Linked DNA regions of Homo sapiens: region 1 is linked to region 2. Evidence: promoter capture Hi-C in human tissues and cell types (Jung and others, 2019). All regions are on one chromosome and are shown on one strand. Each heading gives the region's core, a stretch centred on a gene start or on the middle of the fragment in contact. The rest is flanking DNA. Distances are from core to core; before and after follow the strand shown.

The links. The method cuts DNA at HindIII sites, captures the fragments that hold promoters and counts their contacts. A contact is called where the count stands out against the background at its distance.
Region 1: a fragment that was not itself captured here is called in contact with the fragment with the promoter of KIF14 in region 2 in 1 of the 25 tissues and cell types used here (lymphoblastoid cells).

Annotation. Positions count from the first base shown.
Region 1 is chr1:200,918,216-200,925,650 of GRCh38, reverse strand. No RefSeq gene overlaps it. Among named protein-coding and RNA genes, the nearest start is that of INAVA, 27 kb to the right of the region's middle. The HindIII fragment of the contact is 7,391 bases long and covers 1-5,221 here.
Region 2 is chr1:200,616,695-200,624,185 of GRCh38, reverse strand. KIF14 (kinesin family member 14) reads left to right here and starts at 3,435. Exons shown (of 30, transcript NM_014875.3): 1 at 3,435-3,775; 2 at 5,348-6,574. The coding sequence starts at 5,463. RefSeq lists a silencer at 3,348-3,497 and an enhancer at 3,666-4,167. The HindIII fragment of the contact is 6,770 bases long and covers 828-7,491 here.

The DNA of each region.
Region 1 (7,435 bases), core at 277-2,776, 300 kb before region 2:
ACCCTCCTCGGCCTCCCCAAGGGCTGGGATTACAGGCGTGAGCCACCACGCTGGGCTGGGAAGTATCTTATAAAGTGAAACATCCACATGCCATAAAACACAGCAGTCCCACTCCAAGAAATTTACTCAAGTGAAATACAAACCTATGTTCATACAAAAGCCTGCACACAAAGATTTATAGAAGATTCATTTGTAATCATCCCAGTCTGGAAACAACCCCAAAGTTCCTCAACTGGAAAATTAATGCACAAACTGTGATCCATCTACTCAATTAAAAAATAAAAAGAAACAAAATACTGATACACATAACAACATGAATAAATCTCAAATGCATTATGCTAAATGAAAGAAGACAGACTCCAGAGACTGCCTACTGGATAATTCTACTTAGATGTCTTTTTTTTTTTTTTTTTTTTTTTTTTTGAGACAAGGTCTCCCTGTATATTGCCCAGGCTGGAGTGCAGTGGCACTGTCACAGCTTACTGCAGCCTCGACCTCCTGGGCTCAGGTGATCTTCCCACCTCAGCCTCCCAAGTAGCTGGGACCACAGGTACATACCACCACGCCTGGATAATTTTTTTATTATTTGTAGAGATGGGGGTCTCACTGTTGCCCAGGCTGGTCTTGATCTCCTGGGCTCAAGTGATCCTCCCAAAGTGCTGGAATTACAGGCATGAGCCACTGTACTCAGCCTTAGATAACATTTTAATTATTTTATTTATTTAGTTTTGAGATAGGGTCTCACTTTGTTCCCCAGGCTGGAGTACTCAGCCTTAGATAACATTTTTAATTATCTTAATTAATGAATTAATTATTTTCGAGACAGGGTCTAGCTTTGTTGCCCAGTCTGGAGTGCGGTAGCATGATCACAGCTCACTGCAGCCTCAACCTCTAGGCTTCAGGCGATCCCCTCACCACAGCCTCCCAAGTAGCTGAGACAACAGGCACACACCACATGCCCAGCTAATATATTTCTTTTATTTTTAGTAGAGATGGGGTCTCATATGTTGCCCAGGCTGGTCTCAAACTCCTTGGCTTAGGTGATCCCCCTACCTCGCCCTCCTGAAGTGCTGGGACTATAGGCATGAACCACTGCACCTAGATGACATTTTAGAAAAGGCAAAACTATAGGGACAGGAAACAAATCAGCCATTGCCAGGGATGGGGAATGGGGAAGGGGTTGACCATAGAGTCATGGGGGAATTGGGGGGGTGATAGAACTGTTCTATAGCTTAATTGTGGCTGTAGTTACAGGACTGCATGCATTTGTCAAAACCCACAGATCTACACACTAAAAGCTGAATTATACTATATGTAAATTATACCTTAATTTTAAAACGGAAAAAAAGAAGACAAAAGAAAAAGGAGGGCCCTTAAGAAAACCATATAGCCCTCAAATTCGACCTTTCTGATCCAGCTCTGCAAAGTCAAATGTGAAATAAATGATGTTGTATTATGCTATCATGTCATTTTGTAGGAAAAATATGTCTAAAATATATACACACTTGACTGAGAATTACCTCAAAGTAGCAAAAATACATTTTGTTCGCATAAAAATAACTTATTTTTATACTTTTAATTTTATTTATCAAGATAAATTGATTCCTCCACTATTTTATACAAAATGTTGGAACCTGTTTCAGGTGGTAATTTTGCAGGGCATCATTTATCTTTGGATAATGAGAACCCCAGTAATGGATCTCTTGAAGACTGTACCCTGACCAGGACCAAAGTTTTGCATCTCTGTTCCCCCACAGACTCCAAGAACAACAGAACATTTGTTCTTACATTTATAGCAAGGTTGCCTAAAAAGCACAAAAATCCTTCTCAACAAACATACCAGAGATGATACATTCCAAAAGAACTATGTCACTCATCCAAATGTGGACAAATTTCCCTCTAGCTAAAGCCCTTGTCAAGGTCTTTTTGGGTTTTTGGGGGGTTTTTTTTGAGACGGAGTTTCACTCTTGTTGCCCAGGCTGGAGTGCAATGGCCTGATCTCAGCTCACTGCAACCTCCTCTTCCTGGGTTCAAGAGATTCTCCTGCCTCAGCCTCCCGAGTAGCTGGGATTACAGGTGCCCACCACCACGCCCAGCTAATTTTTTTGTATTTTTAGTAGAGACGGGGTTTCACCATGTTGGCCAGGCTGGTCACAAACACCTGACCTCAAGTGATCCACCCGCCTCGGCCTCCCAAAGTGCTGGGATTACAGGCGTGAGCCACTGCACCTGGCCTTGTCAAGGTCTTTTTATAAGATGCCTGGGCAATCTTGTCTCCTTCTTTGTAGTCACACCTAATGCTTTATGCAAAATTTTATTACCGTAATTGATTACCATCGTGTTCATGAAAGTCGGTTTCAAGTGATTCTTGGCTGTTTCCCCAACTCAACTACCCTCAGGAGATAACAATTTGTCATAACTAAGAATATTTGAAACGCTCTGAAGCTCTAAAGACAGTTAAAGAAGTACAATGAGTCTCTGGTGGGGATTACATTAAGGGATATAAGAGTAGCCTGTGGTTAAGCACTGAGGTCTTCTTTATCACAGAGCAATGGCAGATGCTGCAAAAGGGGAAAATACTTTGAAGATTAAAGTCTGGCACAGATATAAATGTTATTACCATCGAAGCCCCAATATGTCCAAGTCCTGGGCAGAAATGGGTCCTCAGCTTAGTGGGCTATGTTTCCAAAACTGTGATCCTCAAAATGGTATTTCGTGGGAGATACAGAAATTTGTCTTCAAGTGATGTTTATGCATGCTGAGGCTTGAGAACCGATGGTCTTTGGACTAGAATGACACCTAGGCTATCCTGATATTCTTTTCCTTTCCTCCCAAACATACTAGAATTAATATGGACTTTCAGTTTCCTTGATTTCCACAGCCACTTACCTCCAGGAAGTTTTGTAGTATGAGCATGTTAGGGTTCATCCTGTCCATCACAAGAGCCTGCAACATGTTGTCTAAGGCCTGGACCCTCTGACAAGTGAAGAGACAGGGAGTGTCCAGAACAGACTGCCACAGTGCCAGCTCGGCTCCCTGGGGGCACTCCATCTCCTTGTCCCCTACCTCTGGAGGAAGGAAGTGGGGCCAGCCTGGCTCTGCCACCCCCGGCAGTCTCTCTCTCATGGCCAGCCACACTCTGATCTTCCTTGGTGCTGACTTTTCTTGGTCTCAATGAAGACTGGACCAGGTCCAGCCCAAATTGTGAGCCCATTGGTGAAATGTAGGCATTGGGCCATTCTCCCCAAGAAAGCCAGATCCCGTGGGACTCTCCGCATTAGATTCATTCCGCTAGGTCCAGGACACATCTATTTTTAAAACTACAAAGGCTGAGGTGGGAAGATAGCTTGAGCCCCGGAGGTTGAGGCTGCAGTGAGCTATGATTGCACCACTATACTCCAGCCTGGGCAACAGAGTGAGACCCCGTCTCAAAATTTAAAAATTAAAAATGAAATAAAAAATTAGAGGCCCCTGGGAAGATTTGGCAGTCTACTGGTCAGTTGCTCCACAGTATCTGTGGGTTTTATTATCAGACTGTCTCCTCCCGTGACTGAGGCTGCTGTGAGCCTTAGTGAACAAGGACATGGATAGGGTGGGAGCATGGGCCAATCCCTGGAAAGACAGGTGAGGGTACGACAGCTGGAGTGCTTCTTAGCAGCCCCAGGAACATGGGGCCAAGAGCTCTGCAGAGAGGTCAGAGCAGGAGAAAGGAGGGAGAGTTAAAGGGCAAGAGGTGACTCCAAAGACAAAACCTCCCCGTGGAGCTCTCCATGAAGAGGTGGGGATTACCTGGAGGTAGAGACTCGCATTGTCTCTTCGGTACAGGCTGGGCACGATAGGCGGCAGAGAGAACAGGCTGGAGACGCCCACATTTACCAGATCCAGTTTCTGGGACAAGTGGAATGGTGGATTCACCTGACTGCAGGGAGAGGCAGGGAATGACAAGCGGCTTTGGGGTCCCTGGGAGAGACTGGGACCCTCTGGGAGAATGTGCTCTGCTGCTGTTTCTGAGATGCAGGAAACAGTGGGGATCTGAGCCCCCAAACACTTTCTAATAGCCTCTCCTCCAGGGAAGGAGGGCCTGGGTTGCTAGGGAAGCTTCCCTCACTGGACGTCTTAATAGGCTTCCAAAAGTACAATTGGAGAACACCCCCTCCACCCAAGGATGCAGGCAGATAAAGTGGCAGACACGGGGGCTATGCCACCCACAGGCCAAAATTTAAGTCCCCAAACCTTGCCCTTCCTCCCAACCCAAATGTTCTGAGCACAAGAGACCCAGGCGCTCTGAGGGGGTAAGAGCAGGAAAGGCACCTCAGCGCCACGATGCAGAGCATGGCTTGCTGACGCATGTTGCCCATCAAAATCTCAGTGGATTCTTCAAGAATTAGTATCTAGAAAGGCCAGGAAACAAACAAACAACAACAACAAAAAAAACAAGAACCCCCCTCAGAGAGAGATGCCAGCCCTCAGGTCCGGGACTTGTCATCCTCATCCCTGAATGACCAACTCCCAGAAGAGCTTGGGTCTTTCTCACCTCAATTTTCTTGGCCAGGATGGCTTTGGGATAGTAATCGTCCATATTGCCGTCTGCTTGGCCATGCACAGCACTACTCAAGGTTTCCACAGCTCTCAGGAACTTCAGCTTGGTGAACTCAGACTAGGACACAATACACAGATTGCTGCCCATAAGCTGGGCTTCAGCCCTTAGGCTCTGCCCACAGGCAGCACCTGAGACCTACACCCCACCCCTGCTCCTCACACCCAGCCCAGATTCCCATCAACTAGGCCAAAGGATGGATTGCTCACTTGATTTTCTCAGTGCAATGTCCCTGTCCCCAGGACTGCTGCTCACCAATGTCTGGCCACCTGTGTAGGGCTCTGGAGGACAGTGGGGCTAAGGATCTCTGACAAAGATCCTTCCTACAGGAAGGGAACTGCAAGATCTAAGCCCTAGACACCCTGTCCAGTGGCCTAGCCACCAAAGATCTGCCCAGTCACGAGGCAACAATGGGCTGAGTATCTGGTGGCTTCCAAGCCAGGGCTGGTACTCAAAACCCAAGGAGGCATAAGCCCTCTTATTTTTTTCTACTTTCCGCCTCAGTTCACACAAAGGTCCAGAGAACTTTCTTACCATATGTTCTTCTTCTAGAAAGTCCACTATGAACTCATAGGCTTCTCTTTCTGATTGGCGCAATCCTGAAAAGGGATGTAGTTGGGGGAGTTTAGCTGATTCCACCAGATGGAACAGGAAGCCAGAGTCATCCTCCCCCTCCCTTCCTGCCCACCAAGAAGGCCCAGAAGCTACCAGGGTCCCCAGAACCAGCTTCTCTAGGCCAATGGAAGCCAAAGTGGAAAGGCCATCATGTGGGGATTAGATAAGAGATTTTCAGCCGGGTGCAGTGGCTCATGCCTGTAATCCCAGCACTTTGGGAGGCCGAGGTGGGTGGATCACCCAAGGTCAGGAGTTCGAGACCAGCCTGGCCAACATGGTTAAACCCCATCTCTACTAAAAATAAAAAATTAGCCGAGTGTGGTGGCATGCACCTGTAGTCCTAGCTACTCAGGAGGCTGAGGCAGGAGAACAGGAGAATCGCTTGAACCCAGGAAGCAGAGGTTGCAGTGAGCCAAGATCGCACTACTGCACTCCAGCCTGGGCAACAGAGTGAGACTCCATCTCCAAAAAAAAAAGAAAGAAAGAAAGAAAAGAAAAAAAAGACTTTCTGCATCAGGTATGGCCCAATGGCCCGGGATGGAAAAACAATTGGGAGGAGACCTTTAAGTCACTCCCAGTGGCCACAAATTTCTAGGGCTGTCCTAGACTGACTTTGAAAGTTTTGATTGCGAATGGACTTGAAACCCCAAGTCAGCCTGGGAGGCTTCTTTGCCAACTAGACTGGCACAGCCTTCAGGGCATGCCTCTCTGAGCCTGAGGGTTGAGGCCAGGAATACAGCCTGTTTGCCCCAAGTGAAGTCGGGAGAAGGTAAAGCAAGAGGAAGGAGCTGGTGACACCACTGGGCTCCAAAGCAGCATGGGACACAGGCCTGAGTTCAAGTTGCTGCTGCCCTCTCACACTGCCCTGCAAGAAAAGCCTCTCAGAATAGGACTTGGACCCAAAGCACGGGAGCTGCACACAATGACCCTGGCACCAAACTGCATGAGTTCCAAGTTCAGCTCCTCTGCTTCATCAGCTCTGTGATCTCCAGCAAATTAAACTCTGTCAACTTTACCTTCCCCATCTGTATGACAGGGAAGATGATACTATCTGTTATTATTTGAGGATTAAATGAACAATGAGTCTTAATACATGTAAGAAGTGACCTTGAGCAAACTAAAATCCCCCAAGCTTCAGTTCTGACATCTTAACCTGGGGATGATCATCACAGTATCTATTATTGTTGTGGATTTAAATAAATTAATATGTGAAAAAAAATTAGAATGCTTCCTGGCATATAGTAGGAAATCAATGAGTGCATTCTTTAGCATACATTTATTGAGCACCTACTATGTAAAAGGACTCTCCTAGACACATCAGGGAACAAAAGAGACAATAATCTTTGCTGTCACAGAGCTTCTTACACACCAGGGAGTTCCTTCATAGGAACTACCCTTCTAAAAGAATTTTTATTTTGTATTTGCCCATTTGGGTTTGTATATACACAGAGGTCAAAGAAAATCTCATTGAATTTAAGTGGGCTTGAAGAACGTGAATGGCAAGCCATTTATATATCTGGTAAGAAAGCATTCTAAGCCAAGGCAACAGCAAGTGTGAAGGCCCAGAGGCAGGATCGTGCCTGGAAAGCTCAAGGAACAGCAAGGAAGCCTGGGTGTCTGGAATGGGAGGAGCAGGGAAGAGTGGTGGGAGGTGAAGGTAAAGCAGTAATGGGGCAGATCATGAGGGACTCGTAGCTTATTGTAAAGACAATTGGCTCTGGGGACAGGAGCCCTGGGCAGGTTTTGAATAAAAGTGGTCTGACTTTGATTAACAACAGCACTCTGGCTGTTCAGCTGAGAATAGATCAGGAGTAGAGGTGGAGAATGGCATGGGGTGTGGGCAGAAGCAAGAGACCAACTGGGAGGTTATGACAATAATACAGAGGTGAGACGGTGGTTCACACCAAGGGAGGTGGTTAGATGCAAATGATCAGATTCTGTATCCATGTTGAGGGTAGAACCAATAGGAATAGTTGATGGCTAGATGTGAGTATGAGAGAGAGAAGTCAAGAATTTTGGCCTTGAGACACTGGAAAGATTGAGTTCCCATTAACTGATGTGGGGAACAGAACAAATTTGCAGTTGGGAATAAAGTTAAGAGTTCAGTTTGGAATATATTAATTTTGAGATGTCTACTAGGCATCAAAGTGGAGATATCAATAGGCAGTCGGATGTAAGAGCCTGGAATTCCAGAACTGCAGATCTGGACTGCAGATACCAATT
Region 2 (7,491 bases), core at 2,186-4,685:
AAAGCTTTGGGAAGCCAAGGCAGGTGGATCGCTTGAGCTCAGGAGTTAGAGACCAGCCTGGGCAACATGGTGAAATCCCGTCACCACAAAAAAATGCAAAAATTAACTGGGCGTGGTGGCATGCACCTGTAGTCCCAGCTACTCTGGAGGCTGAGGTGAGGGGAATCACCTGAGCCGGGGGAATCACCTGAGCCCAGGGAAGTTGAGGCTGCTGTGAGCCATGGTCATGACACTGCCCTCCAGCCTGGACAACAGATTGAGACCCTGTCTCAAAAAAAAAAAAAAAAAAAGAAAAAAGAAAAGAAAGAAAAAGAAAATTAGGGCCGGGCGCGGTGGCTCACGCCTGTAATCCCAACACTTTGGGAGGCCGAGGCGGGTGGATCACGAGGTCAGGAGATCGAGATCATCCTGGCTAACATGGTGAAACCCTGTCTCTACTAAAAATACAAAAAATTAGCCAGGCGTGGTGGCGCATGCCTATAGTCCCAGCTGCTCAGGAGGCTGAGGCAGGAGAATGGCGTGAACCCGGGAGGCAGAGCTTGCTGTGAGCCAAGATGGCGCCACTGCACTCTAGCCTGGGCGACAGAGCAAGACTCCGTCTCAAAATAATAATAATAATAATAATAAAAATAAAAAAAAGAAAATTAGAAGGAAAATACAAAATATGACAGATTTTAAAATACCTTTAGGTTCATGCAGTTTGTTTAACTCTTGTCCTTATTATAAAGCCATAGACATTTGAGATCCAGAAAGAATCTGTAAAAACTGTTGTACAGGGTAGTGGTACAGAGCACAGGAAATGGTGTTTAATTTCCTGAGTTCTGAACCTAACTCTGTGACCCAGTAGTTGTATAATGTCAGGCAAGCTATTTAACTCCTTGGAAACCCACTTTCCCTCATGTGTAAAACAGCGATAATCATAATACCTATCTTATAAGGTTATGGAGTTAGGTTATTTATCTTGCACAAAGAAAGGACTCAATCCTTGCTGGTTATGATGATTTAATCCAGCACTTTCGTTTCACAAGCGAGGGATCTACAGTAAGGAGACTTATCTCTGGTCTCACCATTAGGTTGAGACAGATCCTCAGCTAGAATCCAAAGTGCTCTTACCACTTTTCCACAACTTTTGCTTTGTCCTTTGCATTTTAAAATTATTAATTTCCTATTGCACCTTTTCGTTATAGACCCCAAGTGCAACTAGATACAAACACCAGGAAAATACATACCACATTTTAATAATTTAAAAATTGTGAAATTTGCTAAATTGTAATAGATTTAATCTTAGGCCGGGCGCAGTGGCTCACGCCTGTAATCCCAGCACTTTGGGGGGCTGAGGTAGGTGGATCACCTAAGGTCGAGAGTTCGAGACCAGCTTGACCAACATGGAGAAACCCCTTCTCTACTAAAAATACAAAATTAGCTGGGGTTGTGGTGCACGCCTGTAATCCCATCTACTCGGGAGGCTGAGGCAGGAGAATCGCTTGAACCTGGGAGACGGACGTTGCGGTGAGCCAAGATCAAGCCATTGCACTCCAGCCTGGGCAACTAGAGCGAAACTCCGTCTCAAAAAAAAAAAATTTAATCTTAAGAGATCATTAATTAGCATGAGTTAATCATTTTTCTTTAAATCTTACATAATCCAGAAAGCTTCAAACGTGCCAGTTTTACTTCGACTCTTTCCACGTTTTCTTTCTGTTTGTCTCCCTCTGGTGGATTTAAAAAAATACTTGCTTTATTCTATTTATGAGCTTATTTTCCTTTTAAAATTGAAAAAGGTCTTTATGTCTTCTGTCATGTTTAATATATATTTCCAGTTACATTTTATTTTTATTATTTTGAATTATACATATGTTTAAAATTTTTATGTATTTGAGTTTGTCTGTCTTTTCTTTGACATATCTTGCTTTGTTTCTAAATTGAATGATCATTTTCCCATAGATGTGATAACTTTTTTTTTTTTTTTTCTTGAGACGGAGTTTCTCTCTTGTCCCCCAGGCTGGAGTGCAATGGCGCGATCTCGGCTCACTGCAACCTCCGCCTACCCGGTTCACGTGATTCTCCTGCCTCAGCCTCCTGAGTAACGGGGATTACAGGGGCCCGCCACCACGGCTGCCTAATTTTTGTATTTTTAGGAGAGACGGGGTTTCACCATGTTAGCCAGGCTGGTTTTAAACTCCTGACTGCAAGTGATCCGCCTGCCTTGGTCTCCCAAAGTGCTAAGATTACAGGCGTGAGCCACCGCACCTGGCCCTGATAAATATTATATTCTATTTTCTGATAGTTTCCTTATACCTTAATTTTAATTGAGTTTTAGAATGATTTTTAGAGTAAGATTTAGAATGAGTACTTTATCATCTGTTTGGTTGGTCTATATAATTGGAGCTACTTATGGTCTCTATCTCAGTGAATACTTCTTCAATATCTCTGTACTTTTTGCCTGTTTAAAAAACATTGTTGCTTTACAATATCTATTTATCTAGTCTTTCTCATTTATTTGGTTATTTTTCAGAATGTATTTGTAATATTTTTTCAGATTTCAAAATCTTATGGGGGCTGGGCGGCGCAGTGGCTCACGCCTGGCAGCTTACAAGGTCAGGAATTCGAGACCAGCCTGGCCAATATGGTGAAACCCCGTCTCTACTAAAAATACAAAAATTAGCTGGGCGTGGTGGTGCGCGCCTGTAATCCCAGCTACTCCAGAGGCTGAGGCAGGAGAATCGCTTGAACCAGGGAGGCGGAGGTTGCAGGGGCCACTGCACTCCAGCCTGGGCTGCAGAGCGAGACTCCGTCTCAAAAAAGAAAAAAAAAATTAAAAAAAGGGAACTTTTACTGAAACGGAGTTACATTGTACGGCGGCAAGAACCTTCAAGTTCTAGTTATGCCACTGCTAATTGTCTGATCTTTCACAAGTTTAACTCTAAACCTCAGTTCCTCATCTGTAAACGAGGGATAACATTAATATTTATCTCACAAGATTTTCAGGACTGTTTAAAAATTCATATAAGACATTTAGCATATTTCCTACGTGAACGCCTTGCATAGGAAACACTAGAAAAGTTAATTATTATGATTAACTTGGGGGCAAATATCCATTTACAATGTGAAGTCTTCGATGTAATGGCTTCTTTTAGATTAAAGACCGACAAGAGTGTCACTGTCATGCTTTTCGTTTGACACCCACTTCAACGAGGGGCCCGCTGCGCCCGCGACCGCCGCCCCTTCCTCTGGTCGGATTTAAAGGGGGCCAAGCTCCACGCTTTAGCAGAACCCGAGGAGGGGAGGGAGCGTTGCCTGGGAGATGAGGGTGGGGCGAGTCCAGCATTCAGAGACGGCTACCGGAGCCCAACCACCGGCACTTCCGGGGGGCGGGTGGAAGCAAAGGCGCGGCACCCGACGCGACGCCCAGCAGCCAATCAGAAGGCGGGGCGCCCATTCAAATTGCGGCCTTCTGGGGAGCCGGCGCTGGAGGTGGTGAGTGGCGTGGGGACTGTGTCGAGGGGGTCCCCAAGGTGCCGGACCCTGCGGAGGGGCGAAGTTTCGGCACTGGGGAGGGCGTGCGGACGCTTTCCCTACAGGCGACCACTGCTCTGCGGGCGGGTGGTCTTAGCTCCAGTCCCCCATTCAGTTCCTCAGCATTCCAGGTCGGCGGCGAAGGGGTCCCCGAACGAAGGGCGCAAGGCAGCGTCTCTGCTGGGACCGGGAAGCCGGACTTCAGGGCCTCTCGGCCCGTGGGCTTCTCCCCGAGTCTCCCCGAGTCGGTTGGCATTAAGAGGTAATTCTTAGTCATAGCCCCTGGTAATGACTAGCAGAGAAAGAACAGAATCACCGGATGTTTTGGTTTGGATTGTGCTTATTTTCCTTGTATTCCTTCCAGTCCTCTTTAAAATCTGATGGCGAAACTCCTCAAACAGAAACCGTATTGATTTGTGCAAATCGCAAATGGTTTTTAGTTGCAAGAGAATTTCCAGAATCTTCTTTTTGCCTTTAAATTCATTTCATAACAGGAAAATTCTGTATTTTGAGTTGAAACGTTGATGGGAGATGCTTATAAGCTGACGAATTTTTTTTGTAATGACTGTTATTTATGTAAAAATTTAAAAGCCTCATTTAAAAATGAACTTCCATTAATTTGTTCCTCGCTAGCAATAATCTTTGCAATAGTTTGAACCAGTGTCATTTTACAGGTTAGAACCCGGCATGCAAATTTAAAGTCTTGTTTACATCCTTGTAAGGAGTTGGATACAAAGCTGACTAAAAGCCAGGTCTCTTAGCTGTCACTGCTGTTCCCTTTCTTTAAAACGTTAATACCTGATAGATATTGTTGCTGTATATTTACATACACCTCTGTCTAATTTGTTGTCTTACTGCTAAAGGGCAGGTTGTCTGTTTATCTAATCTTGCATGGTTTTTCTCAACACAATTAATTTACAGTACTTATCGTACTTACTGCCTGTGGTACTTGGGAATAATCTGCCTCGTGACACCAATCAATTCAATCTTCTCTATAGGCATTCCTGTATTCAACATACATGGGCCGGACGCGGTGGCTCACGCCTGTAATCCCAGCACTTTGGGAGGCCGAGGCGGGCGGATCACAAGGTCAAGATATCGAGACCATCCTGGCCAACATGGTGAAACCCCGTCTCTACTAAAAATACAAAAATTAGCTGGGCATGGTGGTGGGCGCCTGTAGTCCCAGCTACTTGGGAGGCTAAGGCAGGAGATTTGCTTGAATACAGGAGGAGGAGGTTGCAGCAAGCCAAGGTCGTGCCACTGCACTCCAGCCTGGTGACAGAGCAAGACTCCATCTCAAAAAAAATATTTTTATAAAAATAAAATAAAATAAACCTTCTTATGGAACATTGGCAAAAAAAAAAAATACGTGTAGCAGGTATTTATAAAAATACTTTGCTCCACACTCTGATTTAGGTGCTAGGGTTTCCTTTAGTCCTTCCCATTCCCCACACTGGAAGTACTTGAAAATCTATGTTGGCATGCACTTTTTACATCTTCTAAGTCACTTGACACATTTGGCCTGATATATGGCTTATCAGTATATTTCTTCTAGACTAAAGAAATGGGAATTGTATTCTTGTCTTTGAAGTCTACAGTATCTATCAGAGGGCCTGGCACTAATGGAAACTTAGTCAATATTTGTTGAATAATGATGGTAAGTTCTCTGAGAGACTTGCCTGAAGTTGCTTGGAAGCAGTATCTGAGCTGCAGATTGTGATCTATTGTAATGTATGCCTCTGGGAATTTACTTACACAATGGGATGTTCTCTCTATATTTTTAAAGCTTGTTTGTAGTCTGTGTGATCTAAATCTTTTTTTTTTCTTTTAGTTTAGCAGATACTTTCAGAAATGGATACATAAGAAATGGCTGGAAATCAAATGAATGTCCAAAGAAGAGCTTAGGGTCTTAGTAACATTCTTTTTTAAAATAACTGTCTGCCAAAATGTCATTACACAGTACTCATAATAGAAATAACAGCGGTGATATTCTTGATATTCCTTCTTCCCAAAATAGTTCATCACTGAATGCCCTCACCCACAGTAGCCGACTTAAGCTGCATTTGAAGTCGGATATGTCAGAATGTGAAAATGATGATCCATTATTGAGATCTGCAGGTAAAGTCAGAGACATAAATAGAACTTATGTTATTTCTGCCAGTAGAAAAACAGCAGACATGCCCCTTACCCCTAATCCTGTAGGTAGATTGGCACTTCAGAGGAGAACTACAAGGAACAAAGAATCATCTTTGCTTGTTAGTGAGTTGGAAGACACAACTGAAAAAACAGCAGAAACACGTCTTACATTACAACGTCGTGCTAAAACAGATTCTGCAGAAAAGTGGAAAACAGCTGAAATAGATTCTGTCAAAATGACACTGAATGTGGGAGGTGAAACAGAAAATAATGGTGTTTCTAAGGAAAGTAGAACAAATGTAAGGATTGTAAATAATGCTAAAAACTCTTTTGTTGCCTCTTCTGTACCTTTAGATGAAGATCCACAGGTCATTGAAATGATGGCTGATAAGAAATACAAAGAAACATTTTCTGCCCCCAGTAGAGCAAATGAAAATGTTGCACTTAAGTACTCAAGTAATAGACCACCCATTGCTTCCCTGAGTCAGACTGAAGTTGTTAGATCAGGACACTTGACAACGAAACCTACTCAGAGCAAGTTGGATATCAAAGTGTTGGGAACAGGAAACTTGTATCATAGAAGTATTGGGAAGGAAATTGCAAAAACTTCAAATAAATTTGGGAGCTTAGAAAAAAGAACACCTACAAAATGTACAACAGAACACAAACTGACAACAAAGTGCAGCCTGCCTCAGCTTAAGAGCCCAGCTCCATCAATACTGAAGAATAGAATGTCTAACCTTCAAGTTAAACAAAGACCAAAAAGTTCCTTTCTTGCAAATAAACAGGAAAGATCCGCAGAAAATACAATTCTTCCCGAAGAAGAAACTGTAGTTCAGAACACCTCTGCAGGAAAAGACCCCTTAAAAGTAGAGAATAGTCAAGTGACAGTGGCAGTACGCGTAAGACCTTTCACCAAGAGGTATGTGATGCCTTTTAAAATCTAAAGCCAAGCAGTTACATGTAAGGTACCTTTAATTCCTCTCTGCCTTTGGAAGGTCAGTGTATTCGTGCATCTTCAAACTTGTTGGCAATACTTTTATATAGAAAGAACTTTTAGGTCTAGTTGTAGTGTGTGTTGATAATTTTTGATCACTGACTATAAAATTAAAAAATTGAATCACCATATTTTGTATATTGAAGTTTCTCTAGATATATTGCTTTTAAAAAGTCTGAATAAGTCACTTAGGTCTCTAATGAAATCTGCTTTCAGATCTGCAATATATGCTGGAATGTTATACCTATCCCTTAAAAAGAGCCATAACAGGCCAGGTGTGGTGGGTCACGCCTGTAATCCCATTGCTTTGGGAGGTCAAGGCAGGCAGATCACTTGAGGCCAGGGGTTTGAGACCAGCCTGGCCAATATGGTGATACCCTGTCTCTACTAAAAATACAAAAATTAGCTGGGCATGGTGTTGCACACCTGTAATCCCAGCTACTCGGGAGGCTGAGGCAGGAGAATCACTTGAACCCGGGAGGCAGAGGCTGCATTGAGCTGACATCAGGCCACTGCACTCCAGCCTGGGCGACAGAACGAGACTGTCTCAAAAAAAAGAAGAGCCATAACAAATTACTGGTTCCCTAAAGAGGTCCTTTCAAAACCCTTTCCAGAGTGGTGATTATCATCATCATTGTCTCCGATTACTATATAGTAGTTATAAATGCAGTGATACATTAGATTTGATTTTGATGGCAAAAAATCTCTCTCTAAAAGTGGTTGTGGGTGGGGAAGACACAGATTAAAGATAAGGTTGGAAAAGATGGACATGACAAAATGTGAATGTGACAAAATGTAATTGTTTTAAAATATTTTAATGTAGTTGTTTAAAATATTTTAAG